4 separate regions of the Homo sapiens genome follow, and all the other regions are linked to region 1. The links are contacts of gene promoters, found by promoter capture Hi-C in blood cells and fetal thymus (Javierre and others, 2016). All regions are on one chromosome and are shown on one strand. Each heading gives the region's core, a stretch centred on a gene start or on the middle of the fragment in contact. The rest is flanking DNA. Distances are from core to core; before and after follow the strand shown.

Evidence for each region. Contacts are between HindIII fragments. The CHiCAGO score rates a contact against its expected background, and 5 or more counts as called.
Region 2: a contact is called between a fragment that was not itself captured here and the fragment with the promoter of HELQ in region 1, in 9 of 17 cell types (naive CD8 T cells, activated CD4 T cells, naive CD4 T cells and 6 more). The highest score is 11.4, in naive CD8 T cells.
Region 3: a fragment that was not itself captured here is called in contact with the fragment with the promoter of HELQ in region 1 in 2 of 17 cell types (total B cells and non-activated CD4 T cells); the score reaches 6.0 in total B cells.
Region 4: a contact is called between a fragment that was not itself captured here and the fragment with the promoter of HELQ in region 1, in 1 of 17 cell types (total B cells). The highest score is 6.1, in total B cells.

What each region holds. Positions count from the first base shown.
Region 1 is chr4:83,454,309-83,457,198 of GRCh38, forward strand. HELQ (helicase, POLQ like) reads right to left here and starts at 1,515. Exons shown (of 18, transcript NM_133636.5): 1 at 1,089-1,515. The coding sequence starts at 1,385. It overlaps MRPS18C (mitochondrial ribosomal protein S18C), which reads left to right and starts at 1,750. Exons shown (of 6, transcript NM_016067.4): 1 at 1,750-1,869; 2 at 2,601-2,650. The coding sequence starts at 1,770. RefSeq lists enhancers at 763-1,593, 1,022-1,071, 1,412-1,521, 1,508-1,802. The HindIII fragment of the contact is 1,733 bases long and covers 1,322-2,890 here.
Region 2 is chr4:82,879,486-82,882,185 of GRCh38, forward strand. It overlaps SEC31A (SEC31 homolog A, COPII component), which reads right to left. Exons shown (of 27, transcript NM_001077207.4): 2 at 2,373-2,455; 3 at 1,314-1,437. The coding sequence starts at 2,451. Among named protein-coding and RNA genes, the nearest start is that of SEC31A, 10 kb to the right of the region's middle. The HindIII fragment of the contact is 2,032 bases long and covers 265-2,296 here.
Region 3 is chr4:82,845,106-82,847,856 of GRCh38, forward strand. The region is part of intron 20 of SEC31A (SEC31 homolog A, COPII component); the gene reads right to left. Among named protein-coding and RNA genes, the nearest start is that of SEC31A, 45 kb to the right of the region's middle. The HindIII fragment of the contact is 1,558 bases long and covers 685-2,242 here.
Region 4 is chr4:82,930,579-82,933,387 of GRCh38, forward strand. LIN54 (lin-54 DREAM MuvB core complex component) reads right to left here. Exons shown (of 13, transcript NM_194282.4): 12 at 365-567. Among named protein-coding and RNA genes, the nearest start is that of THAP9-AS1, 31 kb to the left of the region's middle. The HindIII fragment of the contact is 5,681 bases long and covers 1-2,809 here.

The sequences.
Region 1 (2,890 bases), core at 265-2,764:
GTAAATAGATATCTTACAGCTGAAGAAATGGAGGCCCAAAGAGGTTAAATTACTTGCCTAAACAGCAGGTTCAGGAGTGTTACGATGATACTGAGATTCTAATTTTTGAGACAGGGTCTGGCTCTGTCACCCAGGCTGGAGCACAGTGGCTCCAGCCACTGCACGATCACAGCTCACTGCAGTCTTGACATCCTGGGCTCAAGCGATCCTCCTGCCTCAGCCTCCCAAGTAGCTAGGACTACAGGTGCAGGCCACCACACCCGGCTAATTAAGAAAAAAAAATTTTTTTTTTTTTTTGTAGAGACTGGGTCTCTGTTGCCTAGGCTGGTTTTGAACGCGAACTTCTGGGCTTAAGTGATCCTCCCATCTCTGCCTCCTAAAGCACTGGGATTATAGGCATGAGCCACTGCACACGGCCAGATTGTAATTCTTAAAGCTGTACTAAAACAGCAGGAAGACTGGTAGACGTCTACTGAAATGTCAGCGCATTCGAAGTTTCTGATAACTGCAGCGCTTCCCTCCCAGACTACAATCTACAGTGACTGGCCTCTAACAGAAACATGGTTGTACCACTAGACACTCCAAGGAGTTCCTAGGAATTTGGAATTGAGACTGAGAAACTGAATACTGACTTGGAGTGGTCTGCTACACAGAAGACACACAAACCTGGAGGCAGCAATATAGTAAAGTGATTAAGACAACAGGATTTGGAGCAAGAACTGTACTATCTCAACTTTTCAGGGCCTGATTACTGTCGTAAAATCTAGATAATATAACTAGCTTAACATAACGGGTCTTCAATAAACAGCAGATTTTATTTGTACAGTAGGAGCTGCAGTTATCTGGAAGCCTAGATTTGTGTCTCAGTCATGCCACTTAACTGCTGCGTGCACAACTTTTATGTCTCGGGGTTTACATTTCATATTTATATAGAAATGTAAATAACAAGGCAATCAATACCTCCTAAGTGCCGATTAACAGTGGTAACGAAGACGAGAGAAGTAAACGAAGGCGATAAAACTGGTCAACTCTTTGCATCTGGGAAGGATGCCAAAAGTTTGCAGTTTCAAGTTCCAAGTCCTCCGTACCTGGTCTCCCACCCCTCTGTCAGTGGGCATGTGACGTAGGAGGTCCGGGTTTGTATCACCACCTCCAAGGACGAGACATTCCGGGGAATCTGAGAGTAGAAGGGGCTGTACCTCAACCGGCAGTACGCCCGCGGTTTTCCGCCTCCTGTTCTCAGCCACCATTTCCTCCTCCTCTTTCCCCTCATCTCCGGGCACGAGCTCGGCCGCGGTGGGAGCGCCAAAAATACACCCCAAGCTTGGACGGTTCCTTTTGGGGAGAGACACCCGCCGGCGGATGCGGGAACCACATTCATCCATGGCAAGGACCCAGGGCCCTATTCAGACGTCGTTCTCAGTGACCCAGACGCTAAGCCCATATGGAAGGGAGAGTGGGACGCCGGAGCCCGCTTCTACATCCACCTTGGGAAAAGACCCCAAGTTAGCTCTCAGGGCTCGCGGACCGGAAGCACGCATAAACTTCTACCCTGTCCAATCATAAGCCTCACGTGACCTGCCGCGTAGGGAGGGCACGAACAGAAAGGTGCTGCGCATGCGTATTGAAAAACCTCACCTACTCTCGCGGGTCCTCAGCGTTCTCCTGCGGAACCTTTGAACGGGGTACTCGAGCCCACAGGGGAAGAGCAGCGGAAGGGGCCTTTCGGAACGATTTGGAACGAAAGGAAGTGGAAGAAACGCGGAACCATGGCCGCTGTGGTTGCTGTTTGCGGTGGTCTAGGGAGGAAGAAGTTGACACACTTGGTAACGGCTGCTGTCAGCCTTACACATCCCGGGACTCACACGGGTAAAGTCTCCATATCCTATGCTCCATTGTAGCGCTGCAGGCATTAACCTTAGTCCTAATGGTTAGAGTCGTCCCTGTTAGCAAAACGACTCTGGTTTCTAGGCGATTAAGTTTCTCCAAGATGGGTGGGAATCTGTAATTGCCTTTGACTGTTTTAGTGTCGTCTAATCCACTCCTTTAAAGTATTTAAACGTATGAGGAAGTTGGAGTGGTTCTTAAAAAGCAGAGACTTTCCTAAGATCTCTGGATAATCTTAGTGAGGAAGGGACATTTCCAGAGTCGCCCAGCAGCAAATTCCAGATGTCTAAGGTCCCCAAACAGAACAAAATTGCATAATTTTTGCAATTTTATCTTCTCTGTGCTTCTCTATAAATTCTTTCTGGGACGGGTCTGTTACTTTCTTTTTGGTATGACAGTGCCTTTCTGTTGCTTCTCCTATAAGAATTTGCATTAAGAATTTTCTCTAACCATGGAATGAAGGGAAAATAAATGTCAGAAAGAGCAGGTATGGGCGGGAAAATATGTTCTTTTCCCCCTAAGCCCTGGAAAGCACACCCATGTTGAGTCTTACTCTGTCCCAAATATAAAAGTTTTTAACCATTCTGAATATAATACAAAACCTTTCTTTAATATCGTGTCCCTTAATTCATCCTGTCTCCATAAAAACAAAAATCTTTAGCTATTCAGCTAAGAAAAAGAAATGGTTAATTGCTGTTTCTGTTTAATCGCAGTGCTTTGGAGAAGAGGTTGTTCACAACAGGTATCCAGCAATGAGGACCTGGTAAGAATTTTTTTTTCTATTAGTAAGGCCTTTGCAAATATGACCAAAATGTTTTTCTTTTTAAAACGAGATCTGGTATTAGACTCTAACATCTTTTATTTTAGCTACTTGAATAGAGTTCTGCCGTAGGACAAAACAATTTGATAATTACTCTGAGTTCAGAAATGATGATGAATTGATTGTAGTCATGTAGTCAGCTGAGTTTTGAAGTAGGGGAATTCCTAGATTAGAAGCAAAGCT
Region 2 (2,700 bases), core at 31-2,530, 580 kb before region 1:
CATCAAGATTATAACAAGTACCCCTACTATTAGAGAATAAAATATATGGTCCAGAATGGAGATGAAATATGAAGGCAGAAAGGTATACGATGATACAGATGGTAGTAAGCAGAAAAACTACTAGACAAAAGGTATCTGGGGTTCCCATCCCACTGTGACAGCTCTGAAGAATATGAGCGGTCCCATGAAACTGCATGATTTGAGCTATATTCTGTCAGCTAAAGAGCAATCTCTTTAAACCCTGCTAATATATTGAGGCAATAAAGCTTATTTTATTACTGAAATGAAGACCTCCTTTCTCTGCATTACAATAGGGCATAAGTACTTGAAAGTATGATCCAAATACCTAGTTACCTAGTGTATTAGAAATCGTGTCAACAAAACTGTGAGATATATTTCTAAATATCGTAACAGAAGAAAATAAAAATAAGCTACCATTCAGAGATAATCACTATTAATACTTACGATGACTACTCCTTTTCTAGTCACATCTACCTTTTTGTAAACAGGCACAATAAAGGAGATAGAAAAAAGAACTCTATACAAAATTAGCCAGGCATGGTGGCACATGCCTGTAATCCCAGCTACTCGGGAGGCTGAGGCAGGAGAATTGCTAGAACCTAGGAGGCAGAGGTTGTGGTGAGCCGAGATTGCGCCATTGCACTCCAGCCTGGGCAACAAGAGTGAAACTCCATCTCAAAAAAAAAACAAAAACAAAAAAAACCACACACACACCAAAAAAACAGAAAAAAATGCTAGAAACTACAGCCTCTCCTTCCTACCTTACATGTAACAGCAATAAAAAAGCCAACAGAACATACTGGCCAAGCGTGATTCCTCATGCCTATAATCTCAGCACTTTGGGAGGCTAAGGTGGGTGGATTGCTTGAGGTCAAGAGTTCAAAACCAGCCTGGCCAACATGGCAAAACCCTGTCGCTACTAAAGACACAAAATTAGCTGGGCAAGGTGGTGTGCACCTGTAATCCCAGCTACTCGGGAGGCTGAGGCACAAGAATTGCTTGAGCCTGGAAGGTGGAGGTTGCAGTGAGCCGAGATCGTGCCACTGCACTCCAGCCTGAGCTATGAAGTAAGATTCTGTCTCAAAAAAAAAAAAGAAAAAAAAAAGTCAATAGAACACATAAACACTACTTTTACTTCCATAAAAATTCACTCACATGCTTTTTCACAAAATATTTCATGTTCTTGATGGTATTCCTTGTAGTTTCTAATAATGGCATAATTATAGACAAATTAGGAATCAAGAACAATATATAATTAAATAATCACATGAATTTAAAGCTGAACCTCATACCTGTGAGAAGAGGAGAATGTGGCACAAGATTTCATATCCAAGGATGGATCAGAGAGGTCTAATTCAAATATCTCAAGGGAAGCATTCGTACTAAATGTTGCATCCAATTGCTGAGCAGATGTTCCTATAGAAAATATATTTATGGTAACTATACACACAAAAATAAAAGATCAGAGAAACCATACAAAACAGAAGTTAAAAGCATGTTTTCCATTCTCTTGCTCATGAATGCTGCACATATGCCATTGAGCAGATGCTTAAATTACTATAGCAATGAGATTCTGGCACAGGGCTAGGAGAGGATGTTTATAAGAGTGGGTAGTGTAAATAATTTTTTAAGCCTGTATATATTTAAAAATCTCTGTAAAAATGGTCCCGTGATGGGGGCTGGGCACGGTGGCTCATGCCTGTAATCCCAGCACTTTGGGAGGCCGAGATGGGTGGATCATGAGGTCAGGAGATCAAGACCATCCTGGCTAACATGGTGAAATCCCATCTCTACTAAAAATACAAAAAATTAGCCAGGCATGGTGGTGGACGCCTGTAGTCCCAGCTACTTGGGAGGCTGAGGCAGGAGAATGGAAGGAACCAGGGAGGTGGAGCTTGCAGTGAGCAGAGATCACGCCACTGCATTCCAGGCTGGGCGAAAGAGCAAGACTCCATCTCAAAAAAAAAAAAGTCCCGTGATTTACTATATCTGCTTATAGACATATATGATATAACTATTTCTTTTTATATAAAAATGCTAACATCAAAATTGCTCTTCATTCATTCAAACTGATATTAACTGTTTTTTTTACATGCCATCTATTGTGCTTAATACTGGAGGAATAAAGATAAAATACAATTCCTGTGAAGGAAAATATTTTAGATGTAACACATCATGATCAAAATGCTATGGGAACACAGAGGAAGAACACTAAACTTGGCTGATAGAATGTCAGTAACTTGCCAGGGAGAGAGAGGCTTTCTAGAGAAGATAAAGCTTAAACTGAATAAGCTAGGTGCAGAAGAGAAGAAATTAGGTAACTCATACTATCTTCTCTCCTTTGAACTTACCTGTTGCTAGGTAAATGGGGTGATTCTGGGCAGGGCTCCATGCCTGCATGGCTGTACGATCTACTTCCTTTAACTTCATCCTGCTAAAGGGAATATTTTATACAGAAACAGCCTTGAATGACTTGAATGTCTAACACAGAACACAGATATTTTAAATAGAAACATACTGAACAAACCACTACAACATTAGTAATGCCCAACTGCAAATAAATCAAATCGGTTTAGGTGTCATTTGTTGGATATATTCATTAGAAAGAAGACAAACTTGAGGCCGGGTGGCTCATGCCTGTAATCCCAGCACTTTGGGAGGCCAAGGCGGGCGGATCAC
Region 3 (2,751 bases), core at 214-2,713, 610 kb before region 1:
GGGGTGAAAGAGCTTGAGGAAGGTAAGTAGAGAACATATAACTGTATATTTAGGTGAGCAGAATTCTGCTCAAAGAGGAATAATGAAGGATATACCTGTGTGTCAGAGGGAGAGGCTGCAGGTGGATGGCTGGGAAGGGCAGTAGGAGTTTTGTTACTCCAGGTAGTGACAGTAGGGGCAATTCTAACCTGAATTGAACAAAGAAATACCAATCACAGAAAATAAAAAATGAAAACGTTAAAAGAAGAAAAAAACCCCAAAAGGTATTAATAGCCAGATGCAAAGCCAAAGGTAAGATTGGCAAGATAACATACATTAGTCAGGCAACTGCTTTCAAGGTAGCTGGAATTCCCAAAAAAACAAAACAAAACAACAACAACAAAAACCACACAATCACAATGAAACAGGGAGAGGAAGGCAGGAGAAAAATCAATATGAAAACCTAAATCAAAGCACAAGAACAATGCCATTCAAGTGTCAATTATAAGTGGGTAAAGTGAGGCTTTGTAAGTAGAGAAGGAAAAAAGACATTCCAGGAAAAAAAAAAGTAATTGAGTAAAAAAGTGATTTTTTTTTTGGAAGCATTAATAGTATTCAAGCTACTACTAATCTACAAACACAGTGGTATAAGCTCTCTTTTCTGGATTTCATTACAGCCACAAAAGTCATATCAGTCCAATATGAAGCTTAAAACTCATACAATCAGAGTATTAAAGCTGAATATTAAAGATCTTCCAGTCTAATCCCCACCCTTTATTGCTGACAAAACCAAGGCCCAGAGAAGTGAAGGGACCGTACAACTCAATGGTGATTCCAAGTCACCTGATTTCCAGGCCAGTGTTTTCTATACTACACCATGTTGCTTGCCCTAGAGGCCATTGTTTTTTTGTTTGTTTGTTTGTTTGTTTTTCCGAGACGGAGTGGAGTCTCACTCTGTCGCTAGGCTGAAGTGCAGTGGTGCGATCTCAGCTCACTGCAAACTCCGCCTCCCAGGTTCATGCCATTCTCCTGCCTCAGCCTCCTGAGTAGCTGGGACTACAGGCGCCTGCCACCATGCCCAGCTAATTTTTAGTATTTTTAGTAGAGACGGGGTTTCACTGTGTTAGCCAGGCTGGTCTCGATCTCCTGACCTCGTGATCCGCCCGCCTCAGCCTCCCAAAGTGCTGGGATTACAGGCGTGAGCCACCACGCCCGGCCTGTTTGTTTTTTTAAGCCATCAAAATCCTTTTTGTCAAGTAAATCTTTGCAGAAACTCCAAAACATAATAATAATAATAATAATAATAATAATAATAATAATACAATTGACTCTTGAATAACATGGGTTTCAACTGCATGGGTCCACTTAGATGTGAATTTTTTTCAATAGAAGTTACACTGAGTGTGCCTGACTCTCCTGCCTCCCCTTCCACCTCCTCCACCTTTTCTCCCTCTGCCATCCCTGAGACATCAAGACCAACCCCTCCTCTTCAGCATATTCAATGTGATGACAAGAAGGAAGACTACTTCCACTTAATGATGAATATTAATGATGAATAGTAAATATATTTTCTCTTCCTTATGATTTCCTTAATTACATTTTCTTTTTTCTAGCTTACTTCATTATTTTTTTGTTTGTTTGTTTTGAGACAGAGTTTTTTGCTCTTGTTGTTCAGGCTGGAGTGCAATGGCGTGATCTCAGCTCACTGCAACCTCCGCCTCCCGGGTTCAAGCGATTCTCCTGCCTCAGCTTCCTGAGTAGCTGGGATTACAGGCATGCGCCACCATGCCAGCTAATTTTTTGTATTTTTAGTAGAGACAGGGTTTCATCATGTTGGCCAGGCTGGTCTCGAACTCCTGACCTCAGGGGATTCACCTGCCTTGGCCTCCTAACGTACAGGGATTACAGGCGTGAGCCACCGCGCCTGGCCTGCTTACTTCATTGTTAAGAATACGGTATATAATAAATACAACATATAAATTGTGTGTTAATGGACTGTTCATGTTATCAGCAAGGCTGCCAGTCAACAGCACGCTAATTTTAGGGGTTAAGTTCTGGGGAGTGAAGTCATAGATTTTCAACTGTACGCAGGGTCGGTACCCCTAACCCACATGGTTCAAGGGTCAACTGTAAAGGCAAAGCTGCGCTGGTCAAAGTGGAAGTGCAAGTCCTCCTGATCTGGCCTCTCTCACCCCCTTGCCTCTGCCTGTTAACACTGCATTAAAACCACAAGCCACTGTCCTCATTCATTCAGTACATCTTAAGCTTTAATCAAGAAAATCACTGCTTTATTTACGATTCACTTTGTCTTTTCCTACAAGTGTAAGATTGGTAAATCAAAGTATAACAAATCTTTCAATGTTTTTATCTTTTTCAAGAAAGAAAAAGCTAAGGACATAAAGAGCAAATATTCTCTTTTCCTAATGTAGAGCTTGCCTTGCTTCAGTACCTGACAGGTAGCTTGGTTTAACAAGACGCTTGGGAGTTCTAATCCCAACTTGGCCGGTAACCAGCCATGCAACGCTGAGAAATTCAAGCTCTGTGTCTTCAGTTCTGGTGGGTTGCTTGACATCTCTGCTTCTCAGTTTTCCCAGCCATCATCTGTTCTGCCCTACCTATGTCACAGACTAAGTCTAGTGCAATCTCCATGAAGGGGGGAATTTACTCTGTTTTGTTCATAACTATACCCCCACAGCAGCCAGAGCAATGCCAGGCACTCATGGCAGGGTCTTAAAAAAATATTTGTCAAATGAATGAAAAAAGTCAAAATAG
Region 4 (2,809 bases), core at 227-2,726, 520 kb before region 1:
GTGCTCCAAGAAATGGAAAAGGCAAGAGAAGGTAGGAAAATGCAAAAACATAATTACACGTTCAGCGAGACATATGAACATCTGCTTTTCTTTGGGGTTCCTCAAATTACATAATTACCTCATCTTAGTAGACAGAAATTAAGCACAGTGGACTAAATCATTACTGTGCATTTTCGAACTGCACAATAATCTGACAGTGGTTTCTGTTACCTTTAAATTCCTTTACAAGTAACTAAAGATGGAAAGAAAACACAAAAATCAGGTTTGCAACAACCAAAAATATAAACTCAACTTTGCCCCCTGAAAAGAAACTTTACCAAAAGTATTTGGGAAGTACTATAAAAAGATTAAAATACTGACTTACTTTCCGCCTCCACTATTTAAAGCTGGTGTTGGCCTAGTAAGCAAGTCTGAAATTTGAGAGGATAACTTCGTCTTGGCTGCTGTTTGTTGCTGTACCCTTACTTCAGCTGCATCTGCCAAATGCATCAATGTCTTCCTTTCCGGGCTTTCTTCAAAATTCTTACAGCCAATACATTTGCATATTGAGGAACACATTATTTTTGCCTAAAAGATTTACATAAGAAAAGTTTCCAAATCAAAACCAAAATACATTACTATAAGTAGATGCCACAATCAAATCAACAGCTAATAGCATTACCTGGTCAACTGATAATAAGATTAGATGGAAGTATCTCTGGCTGACAAACAGTAACTACACATGTGGCTAGCTAGGTTAGGTATTCTTAAGTCTGACAGTGGCTGTACAACGTTTGTGGCTGTGTCCTTCCATGTCAGTTTTCCCCCACTATGAATATAGATTTTCTTCAGATATGAGTTACACATGTTTTTCATAAACATGAATGATATCCTAAAATATCAAAAATAAAGGTCATCCAGAATCCAGCCACCTCAATCAAATCATCATTAACATATAGATGACCTCCCATTTATGCATATGTATACAATTTCACATTAAAGGGATTTCACAGATGCCATTTTTATTATTCTATTATGCTATTTTTAATCTGAAGAGGGAGTTCGGGAGGGACTTCAGATTCCCCAAACCCTTCAATAACCCATATGAAACTAGTGTGTATTTTACATTTCATATAAATATATATTTTCATGTAAAAATATGTCAAATGTAAGTATATATAAAATCCTAGACCTTATGTATATACAAATATAGAACTTTCATTTTTTAGTTTTTCAAAATCATATTATCTGCTTTTCTGCATCTTGCTTTTCTTACAACTCATGGAATCCCTCCAAAGTCATCTGGCATAGCTTGAATTCATTCTATTTAACAGCTAGGTGTAAATCCCTGGTATGATGTGTCAATTTTATTGGGCATTCATTTCCCTATTGATGGGTGTTTATTTTTGTTTCCAGTTCTTGGGTACCACAAATGATGCATAAAAAGACTTTTTTGTTATACATTATGCCTTTTTATTTCTCTGAGTTAGATTTCTAGAATTGGGCTCACTGGTTAACAGGTCTGTGTATTTTAATTTTTTTTTTTTTTTTTTTTGAGATGGAGTCTCGCTCTGTCTCCCAGGCTGGAGTGCAGTGGCGCGATCTCAGCTCACTGCAAGCTCCGCCTCCCAGGTTCACGCCATTCTCTTGCCTCAGCCTCCCGAGTAGCTGGGACTACAGGCACCCGCCACCACGCCCGGCTAATTTTTTTTGTATTTTTAGTAGAGACGGGGTTTCACCGTGTTAGCCAGGATGGTCCCGACCTCCTGACCTCGTGATTCACCCGCCTCGGCCTCCCAAAGTGCTGGGATTACAGATGTGAGCCACCGCGCCTGGCCTGTGTATTTGAATTTTAAGAGATGTAGCCAGATTGCTTTTTCAAAAGGCTGTAATACCTCACATCTCATCAGCAATGTGTAAAGGAAGGCTTTCCCACATTCCCTCCAACAATGAATATTATAATTCCTTTTAACATTTTATGCCAGGCGCGGTGGCTCACGCCTGAAATCCCAGCACTTTGGGAGGCCGAGGTGGGAGGATCACCTGAGGTCCGGAGTTCAAGACCAGCCTGACCAACATGGAGAAACCCCATCTCTCTTTAAAAAAAAAAAAAAAAAATTAGCCAGGCATGGTGGCACATGCCTGTAATCTCAGCTACTCGAGAGGCTGAGGCAGGAGAATCGCTTGAACCCGGGAGGCGGAGGTTGCAGTGAGCCGCGATCACGCGATTGCACTCCAGCCTAGGCAATAAGAATGAAACACCATCTCAAAAAAATATATATATATATAATCTGATGGTGGGGATGATAAAGTGAGATTTCACTGTTCTTTAATGTATATTTCCCTGATTTCTAACGAATTTGAGTATGTTTTTGTTAGCTGTGTTTTCTTCAATGAACCCATGTCTATATAAATAAATAAAACTGTCCTTTCTCTCTATAGCACCTAGCAAGATAAACGGGCTGCATTATAAACACATTTACTCTGCTCCTTTCTTATAAGACACCAATAAATTCCACTTACCAAAGGAAAAAATGGATGTAAGTTTGTGTTAACTGGGTTACTGTGAGCCTGAATGGGAATCTAACTAAAGCAATACTTAATAAGCATCTAGTGATGACGAGAGAAAATTCCTGACCTCAGAGTGGGGAAAACATACCAATAATGGTAATTTAGATTTTATATATATATATATATTTGTTTTTTAAAAATTATCTTTATATTTTAAGAACCATAGGAAAGACATTAATAGTGTCTAACCGGAGCTCAGATGGAGAAATTACAATGACATTTAGCTTGGCGAATTTAACTTCCCCTATACCAAAAAAAA